2 separate regions of the Homo sapiens genome follow, and region 2 is linked to region 1. The links are contacts of gene promoters, found by promoter capture Hi-C in blood cells and fetal thymus (Javierre and others, 2016). All regions are on one chromosome and are shown on one strand. The core of a region is centred on a gene start or on the middle of the fragment in contact, and the rest is flanking DNA. Distances in the headings are between cores, read along the strand shown.

Region 1 (6,385 bases), core at 2,615-5,114:
CTCACTAAGGAGAAACAGGTCCTCCAGGAACATCACCCAGCTGAGAGTCCTCCTGTTCTGGAGCAGAGAGGACTGGGGACAAGGACATCCCTCCAGGGCTTCATATGTCTGCTGTGGGATGTGTCAGAGGTAGGCAGGGGGTATGGCAGGCTGGGAACTGAACAGTGCCCTGGCAGCACCGTCTCTGCCTCTTCATTTGCCACCAAGAAACTGGTGGGCTGGGGCAGTGGGCACATGGTCCAGCAAGTGCTGGAGCCACCAGGGCCACTGTAGCCCGGGCTCCCCTGTCCCCTTCCCAGCTCCCACTGTCTTCCTGGCTGCAGCACCTCTTCTTTCAGGAGGCCTCCCTGGGTCCCCAGTGGAGGAGGAGGCTCTTGGGCAGGATTCCCACAGTCCCCCAGGTACGCCATTCTCGGAGCCCCCTGAGCCTGCCGTCCCTGCAAGGGACAGACACCCATCTCAAACGTTATGGGTCACATGATGGAAATGTGTACCCCATGAGCTCGATCTAGGGGCTCAAAAGGCTTCAGGAGTGCTCTATGTCATGGACAGGTACTCCCCCATGGCTCACAGGGTAGACTGTGGCAGCCCCACTCAGATCCAGCCTGGAGGAAAGACGCAGCTTTTCCCCGTGGTTCCAGCAGAACACTGACTGTCCAGCCTGCGGCCAGTCTCCTCCCTGGGACCATCTGGATGGCCAGGCCTGGCTCAGAGACCACTGAGGGCCAGCCCACCATACCACAAAGACCGTCAGGAAAGAGGGGTTCTAGGCCTGAGTTGGGGGTGGGGGCACTGGCAGGGGCACTGGCAGGCAAGCCCGAGGGGCTTCACTCTCTGGGCTCAGCATTTCCGCTGGAATTCACACTACACATGGCACCTGCATCACACAGTCAGCCAGACGCCAGTTGTAACTGATTAGAAGCTATGAAATGGGCGCATTCTGGGGAAAAAAATCAGGACAGACTTTTCCAACTAGCCTTAACTAAAGATTCCACCTAAAACATTTCCCGGAGCTGAATCTACCATTTGCACTGTGGATATAAATGTTTCTCAACAGCCCTGGCCTCGGACTGGTAATAAGCACGCTGACAGGCATGCGCCTGTGGAAGGAAGACAAAAATCCAGAAATTTCTTCCTGCAGCTAGACACACAGAGAGGGTAAACAAACACACTGAGTTGATTAACAAATAAGAATCCTTCAGATTTGGACTTTGGCATGAGAACTGTGTCCAGATTTAAAACCGCATGGCAATCTGAAGCAGTCACATAGCATTTCCTGTGATGTCCCTGTCATTCCAATTCTACTTGTATTTATATAAAGTCATACATTTCAATTAATGTTGCAGCCATTAAAAAAACCCCTGGCTCCCACGTGACAGCCAAGGAAGGCATGCGTTTCCTAGGACAGGTGACTGAGTTCATGTGTGACAGCACCAGCCAGCATTCCCTGAGTGAAGATGGACTCGAAAAACCAGGGGCTTCTAACGCATCCTTCTTTCCTGGTTAACGAACAGCTTTTCGGTGTCTATACACAAACTTTTCAGAATGCATGTAGAGTCTCCAGTAAACAGAAGAGTACACAGGATGCTCAGAGGGAAAAGAACTATATATGGATCCTAAGTTTTTTTTTTTTTTGAGACGGAGTTTCACTCTTATCACCCAGGCTGGAGTGCAGTGGCATGATCTCAGCTCACTGCAACCTCTGCCTTCTGAGTTCAAGCGATTCTCCTGCCTCAGCCTCCCAAGTAGCCGGGATTATAGGTGCCTGCCACCATGCCTGCCTAATTTTTTTTGTATTTTTAGTAGAGACGGGGTTTCACCATGTTGGCCAGGCTGGTCTTGAATTCCTCACCTCAGGCGATTCACCCACCTCAGCCTCCCAAAGTGCTGGGATTACAGGCGTGAGTCACCATGCCTGGCCGGATTATGAGATTCTTAATAACTACCTAAGACAAATAGCTTGATTGTAAAATTGTCACAGATAAGTTCTTAAACCTGTAAACTAGAGTACTTAAAAAAATTCCACATTGCCATTCTTGGTAGCAAAATCTTCATCACCAAGGAGACCTGGCTAGTGCTACAGCTTGGGAAGGAAACAGCCTGTGCTCAGTAATTCTACTAATTACAGCTGGGCTCCAATGACATTAATTTACTGATAACCTCATAAAGTTTTGTTTGTTCTTCCAAGAGATAACATTAGCCAGGCCACTCAAAATAACGTTAAAATTACAGGACTTTGGACTTTCGGCAGAACATGAATAGTTTTCTCGGTAAACAAGGAAGGTCTTTATATGTGATCGTGACATAGTGTTTTATTTACACAAGCTTTAGAGGGTTCAGCCTCTGGACACTAGTAAAGAACGTTTATTTATTTGGTTATTTATGTAAAAAATATTCCACAACCCAGCTCTCTGCCTTGCTAACAAAGAAATGTTTGTTTCTTAGTAAATGAAAACAGTGAAGGCCATGTCAAGCCAAATGGAGAGAATAAAATTACTGCGAGATTCTGCTTTCCACGTAACTTCAGCCAAAACTCTAAAGTGGCAAGATCCGCTTTCAGATTATATTATATCGGCCTCTGAGGATTCTATGCAGATCTGCCACCCCTTGGAGAGGTTTACAAATAGGGAACAGAAATCCATGGCTCCCAAGAAGCCCTGGCCCCTCTCCTCGCTGGGCCACGAACCACTCCCCCAGCTACAACAGCGCCGGTGGTCCCTGCTTGCCCAGTGCCAGCGCCAAAGAGGTCTTGTGCGGCAGGTGCCTCTGACCAACATCACTGTTTCCGGGGAAAGGCCACACATACCAGAAACAACTGCTCCGGCCTTCCCAGGGACACTGGGTTCTCCCACGCCAGTAACCTATTCACAGTTTCCGTTAAAAGGTAGCTAAATACACGGAATAATGCAATAGCCAAAGCGGTTTAGAAGGGGCTTGAGTTAGCATTTTAGGAACACATTACAGACAAGGGAAGTGAACAGCACCGTTTCTTGCCGAGTGTGTGGCCAGTTCCTGTGGCCATGAGGCTGCCGCTAATCTCCACTTCTCCCTCCAAGTGGAAAGCCAAACGTGTTCCACCACTTCACCAAGGGACCCGTCCTTCTTTAAATTTCTATTAGCCAAAAGTGCCAAGTTAACAAGCAAACCAAAAGAAAAAAGAAAAAAAGCGATGGAAGTGTCCCGAAAAGGGCTGGCCTCATTTCTGCAAAAGACGTGATTTGCAAACAAGCAACTGCTGCAGGCGACAGATTGTCAGTGTTGACTAATTTCCATACAAACCGGCTGTGGTTCTGATTCCCGAACACTGCGTCTTCTGCAAGGTGCCCGTCTGCAGGTTTTGCAACGCGGGACGGCCTAGGGAAGGGAGCCTGCGCTGGCAGTCACCGCGGCGCACAGCCTGAGAAACGAGGTGCGGGGCTGGGGAACCCCGCGTCCTGTTTTTCCTTCTGAAAACTAGTTCTCCAGTGTGCAGGGCTGACTCACCCCACGCTTTCCAGAATGCCCGCTCTCCGACGTCCCCAAAGCCGTCCCTTCCCCGGCGAGAAGCGCAACACCGGTCCGCGCCCTCCGCCTCCCCTGTGCCCTGGGGCCTCCCGCCTGGAACCGGGGCGGCCCGCGTTCAAGGGCAGCGGATCTGTGCGCCCGCGGCGCCCGCCCCCACCCGCTCCCACCCGCTCCCACCCGCTCCCCTCCTCTCCCCTAGAGGACACCGGCTGGCCAGGGGAAGGGAGCTCGGCCGGGACCCCTGGACCTACTCACCCAGGAGCAGCCAGAGGCCGCGCCGCGGGAGGCGGCACAGGGCCCGGGCCATGGTGCACAGCGGTGCCGAGTCGAGTCCGCTCGCCACGCGCCCCGCTGAGGACTGAGCCCGCCGCGGCGCGGGCCCGGAGGAGACGCGCCGGGGGCGGGAGCGGGCGCGGGAGCGGTGGGAGGCGGCGGCCGCGCGGCCCGGCCCACTGCGGCTCCCCGCGTGGGTGCCAGGGCCGGGGGCGCCCAGGGCCGGTAAAACTTTGCAGGGGGGCCGCGCGGGCGTCTCCAGGCCCCTCCCGGGGGGCGGCACACTTGGGGTCCCAGGAAGGCCTCCTGAAATGTTCTCCGAGCAAATAAACACTTTTTAAACTAGGGAGGGTCTCCTAGACGACTCAGCGTGAGGGGCACCTTGGTCTCCACCTGGGGATCTTCCCCTCCTCCTCCTCCGAGGTTCTGGGCGTTCCTGCCTGGTGTTTGCCTTGCAAAAGGCTAAGATCTCCCAGCCTTATCTACCTCTCCGCCCAGGTGCAGGCGCTGGGGAGCGTGGGGGGCAAAACTCGCCACCGCGCCTGGCGAGACCCGTAGTAACCCAAAATGGCGCACACTTACCAGGCCCTGGAATGCTGCTCCAGATCTGCAGGATGAGTGGGTGGGCAGAGGCGGGGACAGCACGGCAGGTGAACAGAAGCCGTGGGGCTGGAGGAACAGGGCTCTTTGGGGGGATTGAGATGGCCTGGGAGTCTTGCTGTTGATGGGTAGGTAGCGAGAGCCTGGCAGGAGGTTGTGAGGGCCTGGCCACAGAGTCTTGAGATGAGGTTTGCTTTGGTGGCACTCTGGCAGCTGCATGGAAAACTGATGGGGGATCTTGGGTACATTCGTTTATGTAAAGTGGTGAGAGGAGGGCGCTCTGGAGATGGGCCGGGGAAGCCTGCGGAGGAGCAGGTTTTGGGAGGCACAGGCCTGGCCTCTCGGCATTACTGGTGGCTGGATTTCACTTGCAGTGGTTCCTTCTTGTATTATCCTGTTCCGAGAACTCTTAGCAACAGTAAATTTATACTTGTGCTAAGGAATGCACCACTGCCCTTGGAGGGGGAAGAATCACCACCCTGGTGCTGCGGCCACAGCTGTCTCTTTTGTGGTGGAAGCTGCAAGCGCACAGCATTGCTGAGTGACCATCGTTTTCTCCTAGGAAAGGGAACAGTCTGTGGCTGAGAGGCTGCTGCCACCTGCAGTAAGCTCAGAGAAGGGGAGACAGCTGACAGCGAGGTCATCCACTGGTTCTTCTAACACAGGCTGGGAGGGCACTCAGGGCCAGCATGCCTACCACCTGTGCAGGGGCCCCAAGTGTTCTGAGAGTGAGGGGTGAGATGGTGGGGGAGGGCACACATTCTCTTGACTTGATTAGCCCTTGTTCTTGAACCCTAGGAGATACACCCCATTGGGTGGCCTGGCATCCCTACTTTCTTCATTTAACAGACATTTGTGTCCCTATGTGCAAGACACTGTTAGATCGACAAGCCCTGCCCTTCAATTGGTGAATCTAGGGGGTGACCTCTAAGACTCTCAATAACATGAGCGCCACAATACAGGAGCCACCCGGAACAAGGGACACTCGCCTCAGCTGCAGTGCAAGTAAGGAGACAAAGGATTCTGGACAAAATGCAGCCCAGGCAGTCCTGAGGGCTGGGTGGAGAGAAGGGCACAAGGGAAATGCAGGCCCGAGCACAGGCCTGGCAGCCAGAGGCCGTGCCATGTGAGAGCAGCACAGCTAGTGGGGAAGGGTGGCTGCCAGCACAGCCCTGGGACAGGGCCACCGTACATCCTGCACTAGGCGATGGCCAGTCATAGTGGGGGAGAAGAACCTGCATCTTTCTGCAGCCATCACTCGCCCTCCATATCCAGGGACTCTGGCTTGAGCCACCCTTTCTACTTGTAGCTTGTGGACTTTGGCTGCATGTTTTTGGTTGGCAACTGGGACTCCTCTTTCATCAGGCTCAGCAGGAGTCTTTCTTCCCAACGTTTTCTCTTTGAAGCTTGACTGCAAGGAGGCAAGGCCAGAGGCCCCTGTCACTGCTGTTTTCTCAACACCCCCTAAAGGATACATTTTCCTAAGAAGACAAAGCCTATTTCTCAAGTTCACATGCTTTAGAAATTCACAGTTCTCTGGAGAATGCTGAAGTAAGGCACACACCTAGAGGCATGTTCTCTCCTAATGATTTTCCTGTCTGTACCTTGGGTCTAAGTAAGACATTCCTTAGCAACTACTATGGGCTTCCCGTCTTCAAAAGTTGTAGTCTGATGTATCTGTATTTCTAATTGGTCATAGGTAGCATGGAAAATCATTCCTCTCCCAGGGTACCTCAATCTAGAGGGGCATTAGGTTAAACAATAGAAGAGATTAGAAAATGGCCAAGTGCTTTACTGCATACACAGTAGGGCTAAAGATACAATCAAAGCCTGGTCAACACTGCTAAAAATTCACTATTAACATAAGATTCCTGCTTCCAGCCGAGATGAAGTTACAGGGACTGGACTCACCTTCCCATCTTAAACTAAAAAACTGGACAAAATGTATGAAACAACAGTTGTCACAGTGGACCACAAGAAGTGCAGGGACCCCTGAGAGCAGGGAAAC
Region 2 (6,385 bases), core at 2,171-4,670, 290 kb before region 1:
AGCAGCTCCCTGGAGTCTGCGTCTGCCCTTTCCCTTCTCCCAAGACGGGGTGGGGGGGGTGGCACTCCCACTGCTGCTGTCCTGGGATGCCTCTCCAGCCACTGGGCTCCCTTCACCCTGCCCACAGCATGGGGAGAGGCCGTCGTGAAACTCTCCTTAGCCACTCACCTCAATACCCAGCAGACGCCCCTTTCCTCCTGGTGCCCTGAAGGCTGCGATGGCCCCCTGAATCAGGAGCCCAGCTGATCGGACGAGGTGCACTTTGGCACCTCAAAGCTGGGAGCCAGGCCCTGGAGAGGCCCACTCCTTCCACCCGAGGACCGCCCATATTCCCATAGGGTGTGCAAGGGTGGACAGCAGGCGTTGCTCTGGCACGCCGCCCTTTTGGCTACTTTGTGATCAAAGCCAGCCTATTTTGACATTTCATGTCTTCAGTTTTATTTTTATTTATTTTAAAATATTCTTGCAGAAATGGTTTACATGGAGGCTTTGTTTTTAAACAGCCCTTTGGCTGACCTCCTTCCATCACTGTCTAGAAAACATTTCAGATTTCCACATGGAAACAGAGCCCAGGGCCCCAGAAACCCTCACCCTTGCTTCATCCAATCCATCTGCCACCGAAGGTCTCCTCAGCTCTGGGCTCTTGTTCCTTTGGTAGCACCCAGAGGCCCCACTCTGTCTGGCCCTCCAGGGTCAACTCACTTCTCCCACACCTTGTAATCCCAGCACTTTGGGAGGCTGAGGCGGGCGGATCACCTGAGGTCAGGAGTTCAAGACCAGCCTGGTCAACATGGTGAAACCCTGTTTCTACTAAAAATACAAAAATTAGTCAGGCGTGGTGGCGAGTGCCTGTAATCCCAGCTACTTGAGAGGCTAAGGCAGGAGAATCTCTTGAACCCGGGAGGTGGAGGTTGCAGTGAGCCAAGATCTCAGCATTGCACTCCAGCCTGGACGACAAGAGCGAGACTCCGTCTCAAAAAAAAAAAAAAAAAAAAAAAAAAGCTATGAGAGGCAGGTCTGGGAGCAAAGCAGATCCCTACCTACAGAAGCTCAAGAGGCTCAGGGGTTTCCGTCCTCAGAACCCAAGGATGTCAGAGGCCCCTCTGGTCCCCAGGGGCGGGGGGTGTTAAGGAGGAACCCAGGGGCTGGTCCTGGAGAGGAAGCCTGGATCCGGCGGGAGACCGGAGCTGCCCAGGGCCTCTGGGGCAACACCAGGGCCTGTGCCTGGCCGGGCCCGACTCCTGACTTCTAGCCCCATGTCCCAGGGCGGAGCCTGTGACAGGAGGGACACGCCATTGGGCACCCAGGGAGAGTCCTTCATTGTCTCCTTAGCTGCAAAGGTGGGTGCCTCATTCAGGATGAGGGAGAAGCCACTCGGAGCCTGAGCCAGCCGGAGTCGGGCTGCATGCTGGCAGGGGCCCATCGGATGCTACCCCTCACCCTCAGGAGGCTGCCACCAATGCACCCAAGAGTCGTCCCCTGGTGGGAAATTCCATTCTAATGAAGAGCCTTTGTTCTGACACACAGAGACGGAGGCAATCCCTTCTGAGAGCAAAACTGCTCACCTCCCTGGGACCCTCCAGCCCCGCCCCACGCCCTGCCTCCCTCCTTCCTGGTGCCTCTGTGGGCACCGCCCTCTGGGTGCAAGAGATGGGTGGGGGCCTCCTTTGTCCACAGAAGCAGAAACACAGCACCAACATGCAAAGCCTGAGTGGGGACCCAAAGCCCACACAGCCAGCCCCGTGTGTGGTGGACGCGGAGCTTGAAGCCCAGAGAGGGGAGGTGGCTGGCCACAGTTACGCTGCCGTGAGCTGGGCAGAAGCAGGCCCACGAGGACCTGGTGCTGATCCCATCTCCGGGGCCTGCCTTCCCCAGCAGCCTCAGCTTTCTGGGACGCTCCGTGTTCACCCCACATTCATGCAACTGCTCCAAAAGCCCCTGCTGGGGTCCAGGGGCAGGAGTGGGGCTCGCAAGCTCTGGGAATGCTGGCCCGGCCCCCGGCTCCCCTCTCTGAGGTCTCGGGAACCCCAGGGGCAGCAGAGCTTCCTGTCCCTGTTATGCCAGCGTCTGGCACTCAGGCCCTTGTCACTGCTCAGCTCAGAGTTTAGTGTGGTGGCCACAGAGACCAAGGCTGTGTCCTCCAAGCCATGCCGTCTGATCACCCCTGGTGGCCTGAGCGCAGCTTGGAAGGAATGGTAGCTCCGAGTGAACAAATAAGCGAAAATGAAAGGGGCCGTTCCACAGGCTGATGAGGGGCCGCTGTGGGGACTCCTCCCCGGGGACCCTGGCCCTGGTTTAGTGCTCCTGGGTGGGGCCGGAGGGCTGGGTCCACTTGGAGACATCCAGGAAGACGGTGGAGGCCCCGTGGTAGAGCCAGAGCCGGGGCAGGGCGCCGTGGCGGGTCCAGGTGTCCCGAACCGTGTCGTAGGCCTCCATCTCCACGTGGTAGTCACCTTCCATGCCCTGCCAGCGGCCGCCCGTCACGTACAGCGCATCACCCAGTGGCACCAGCGCGCCATTCTCATGCAGGCTGTGCTGTGACTGCACCTGTGCACGGTCAGCGGGTTAGCGTCCGGTGGGCGGGAGCTGGAGAGCAGGGCTGAGGGTGCCCTCAGCAGGGTCGGGGGAGTGGCAGAGAGGACAGCCAGCCACCTGGCCCAGATCCCCTCCAGGGCATGAGCGCAGAGTCCCTGGGCAGCCCACCGCAGCCCCTCCAGCCTCCTCAGACTCTTCTTTTGGTGGGGAGGTCCCTTTCCCTCTCTGACCCTCAGCCCTTGGGATGACACTTCCAACCCCTGCAGTCAGAGGGGGCCCTGAGGCCTCCCGGGGAGGTCCGGGCTGACTCGAGGCCTCACTGAGGCTTCGCTGTCTCACAGGAGACAGGTGTGGCTCAGCCCTGGCAGACAATCAGGAAAAGCCTAGACAAGCCCACCGTGGGTTCCCTTGCCTCACCCCTGCACCCCCTGCTCAGTCTATGGCCTTGGGAGTGCCCCTGGGAGGGGTTGTGGGGTGAGGGCGGGTGGCTTTCCAGAGGCTGGAGAGAGCTGCGGCTTCAGGAAGAGCCCGGGCGGGTGGGAAGCGGGAGGCCGGTCTGTGGCCTCCAGATGAAGACAGGGAAGAGGTGAGGACCCAGGCCTGGAGAGGGTAAGGCAGAGCCCTGCTGTGCTGGGACCTGAGCCTGGGACAGTGGCCTGGGCTGGAGGAAGGCCTGGCTGTGGCCCAGCTGGGAGGGCCCAGGCAGACACGCTAGCCTGGCAGGGCCCACCCTGCACCTGTCTCACCGCTGTAATGGGGGCCCTGGGTCAGCTGAGCAGTGACGCCAGGGGACAGCTGTGGGCAGCAGGATTGCAGAAGTCCTGCTGTCACCAGGCCAGCAGCCTGCAGGGGGGCTGCAGGAAGGAGTTCCACCTTCTCAGCCTGCAGGGACTGGGAGTCTTGGGGCAGGTGGGCAGGTCCAGGGCATCTGGCTTGGTGCCAGGACCCATCCCCAACTTCCTGGGCACTGTCCCCTTCACCAGGGAGGCCGCCCAGAGGCTCACCTCCCTCCCCTTCCTCAGGCACTGATGGTCAAAGAGTGGGCCATGGTGGGATGGCACTGAGGACAACAGGAAAGCCCCCAGGCTGGTGGCTCTCACCTCACCCTCAGCTCAGGAACCCCCTCCCCAACTTGGCCACCCTGGGGCAGAGGATGCCCTCCCTCCTGGTCCCTATAGTACCCTCCGGCTGAACCTGGCTTTTCTCCCTGAGAAGGAGGACAGGCCACTCCTCTGTAGGAAGCTGGGTGTGCAGGGACAGAGCACCAGTGGCCGGCAACCCAAATCGCGTTCTCCCACCATCACCGTCACCCCTGTCCTCAAGGGGACTCGGGCCAGGGCACTATTGTCACCTTGTAGCCTGGGGGGATCTCAGCCTGCGCCACCCACTTTATTGTGGGCCCTCTGTGGGCACCCCAGCCTGCACCACCCCCTTCATTGTGGGCCCTCTGTGGGCACCCCAGCCTGCGCCACCCTCTTCACTGTGGGCCCTCTGTGGGCACCCCAGCCTGCGCCACCCCCTTCACTGTGGGCCCTCTGTGGGCACCCCAGCCTGCGCTGTCCCCTTCGCAGTGGGCCCTCTGTGGCACCCCATCCCTCACTTCCCAGGCTGGCTCTCTGATGTCAGGAGTCCTGGGCAGGGGCTCACACATGTTGGGGGAGGGGGCGGCCCACCTTCTGCCACAGGTTGGCCCCGGGGTCGTACACGTAGACCTTCTTGGTGTTGTCCCCAATGAGGTAGAGCTCCCCGTGCAGTGCAGCACAGCGAGGCGAGGACAGGTACTTGGGCAGGAAGGGCGAGGCGATCACACTCCACGCATCTGTGGGGGGCACGGGCACTGGCCACCGTCACCAGGGTTGCCAGAGCGGGCACTAGCACTGTGCCCCACTCTGAGGGACCCTGGACTCAGTGCCTCTCTGAACCTCAGTGAACCTGTCTGTGAAATGGGAGTAGGTCCCTGCGGTGCAGCTGGGAGGGACCCACACCTGCCTCTCACCCAGCCTCGATCTTTCCCTCTGGGGACAGTGACCCCTCACAAGGCTGCAGCATAGGTGAGGGGCCTGTGGAGGGTGCAGGGGTCCCTCAGGACTCTCCCTGTGGTGGGGGTGCTTTGGCCTGGCTGCCGCCCCACCCACCCCACCCTGACTGGGGACTGCTGGGGGCCCCTCCCTGCCCAGCCCCCAACCCCGGGCCTGGTACCCAGGTGGGCCTTGCCTGGACTCTGGGCCCAGTCAGTCTCTTGAAGGGTCCTCACATCCACGCCTCAGAACAGGGCCCGCCACCATCTACACTGTCCAGAGGGTGAAACAGGACTGGAGACCAGGGTCGGGGTGGACGGCTCAGAGCTCAGGGAGGCTGCGCTGGGCCTCAAACTCTGGCACAGAGTCCAGAGCCCAAGATGGGCCTCGAGGCCTCGGAGGTCGGGGTCACCACTCCCGGCCCGTGAGGCCCTTTTGGGTAGAAGAACAGCCAGGCAGCTGCCAGGTGCTGGGCTCAGATCACTGGCACCCCACCCCCACCCCCAGCCCCAGCCCACTGCTGCCCTAAGGCCTGAGCAGGACAGACGTGCAGCTCGCCTCTGTGCTGGGACTCTGCGGAGCTGACGCAGTGGGTCCCTGACCTCTTAGGCCCCTGCCTTCCTCCACATCCCCTCCTCTTTGTGAGAGGCCTGCGGCCGCCGGCTCTCTCCACCCCGGGCCCCGTCTATCCTCAGGAGCCCCAATCCTCACCATCACTACGAGCGGACTGTCGCCTGTCAGAGGGGCCTGTGGTCCTCTATCCTCGGTCCCTGAGCCCCACCCACCTGTGACAGGGTTGTAGCACTGCAGGGCCAGGGCGTTGTACTTGCAGGCGCTGGAGCCCACCAGGTAGAGCCGGCCCCGGCAGCCGGCAGCCGAGAAGTTGCTGACGTATTTGAGGGCCGGGCTGACGGGCGTCCAGCTGTCCGTGTAGGGGTCATAGCTCTCCACCTCCACCACGTCCAGGGTGGTGCCTGTGGGGTGAGGGCGGGGGCAGTTCAGGGCTGGGGAGGAGAGGGGAGGCCTGGAAACTCAGGGGCTGGGGCTTTGTAAGGCAGCAAAGTGGTGGGAGGTGGGGTGGGCTCCCCATTTCACAGACAGGGAAGCTGAGGTTCTGAGAGGTGCTGGCACCTCCCAAGGCCGCCCCGCCAGGAAGTGGTGGGGGTGGGGGTGGACACTCGGGCCTAGAAATGCCCCACTCCTGAGCTCGAGCTGGGGCTGATGTTTGGGAACGGGGTGGCGGGGAGCTGTCAGGAGGCTGCCCGCCCCCAGGCCCCTCATGTGCTGGGAGTCATTTCCTGGGGTGCTCTGAACTGGAATGGAGGATGCCAGCCCTGGGAGGGCGGGTTGCGAGACCCTGGAGCTGTAGGCAGCTCCCTCCCAGTCCCAGATACAATCTGGGTGTGGCAGTGATGGGGACGCCTCCTGGGGAGAGCAGGCCCTGGCCTGGGCCTCTGTGAGCACCTGGGGACCTCACAAGCCCTGGGCTCGGGAGCCCTGGGTGCTTTCTGCTCTCTGGTTGGGGACACGGTAGCCACTGAGAGAAAGGGGACAGCTGGGACAGATGGGGCATTAGAAGTGGCCTCAAGACCAGTTCATCACCTACAGAGCTTTTGGGCCCCATGTGTTTTGTTTTTCTTTTCTTTCTTTTTTTTTTTTTTGAGACAGGGTCTTGCTCGGTCACCCAGGCTGAAGTGCAGTGGTGCGATTACAGCTCATTGCAGCCTCAACCTCTCAGGCTCAGCGATACTCCTACCTCGGCTGGCACGTGACACCATGCCTGCCTTTTTTTTTTTTTTTTTGAGATGGAGTCTCACCCTGTCACCTAGGCT

Evidence for each region. Contacts are between HindIII fragments. The CHiCAGO score rates a contact against its expected background, and 5 or more counts as called.
Region 2: a fragment that was not itself captured here is called in contact with the fragment with the promoter of RAMP1 in region 1 in 6 of 17 cell types (megakaryocytes, erythroblasts, M0 macrophages and 3 more); the score reaches 11.8 in megakaryocytes.

Annotation. Positions count from the first base shown.
Region 1 is chr2:237,857,102-237,863,486 of GRCh38, reverse strand. RAMP1 (receptor activity modifying protein 1) reads right to left here and starts at 3,864. Exons shown (of 3, transcript NM_005855.4): 1 at 3,760-3,864. The coding sequence starts at 3,811. RefSeq lists enhancers at 4,477-5,263, 5,264-6,052. The HindIII fragment of the contact is 3,458 bases long and covers 2,328-5,785 here.
Region 2 is chr2:238,146,976-238,153,360 of GRCh38, reverse strand. KLHL30 (kelch like family member 30) reads right to left here. Exons shown (of 8, transcript NM_198582.4): 6 at 5,339-5,527; 7 at 4,209-4,354; 8 at 414-2,547. The coding sequence ends at 2,296. Among named protein-coding and RNA genes, the nearest start is that of ERFE, 8.8 kb to the left of the region's middle. RefSeq lists an enhancer at 1-79. The HindIII fragment of the contact is 8,993 bases long and covers 1-6,385 here.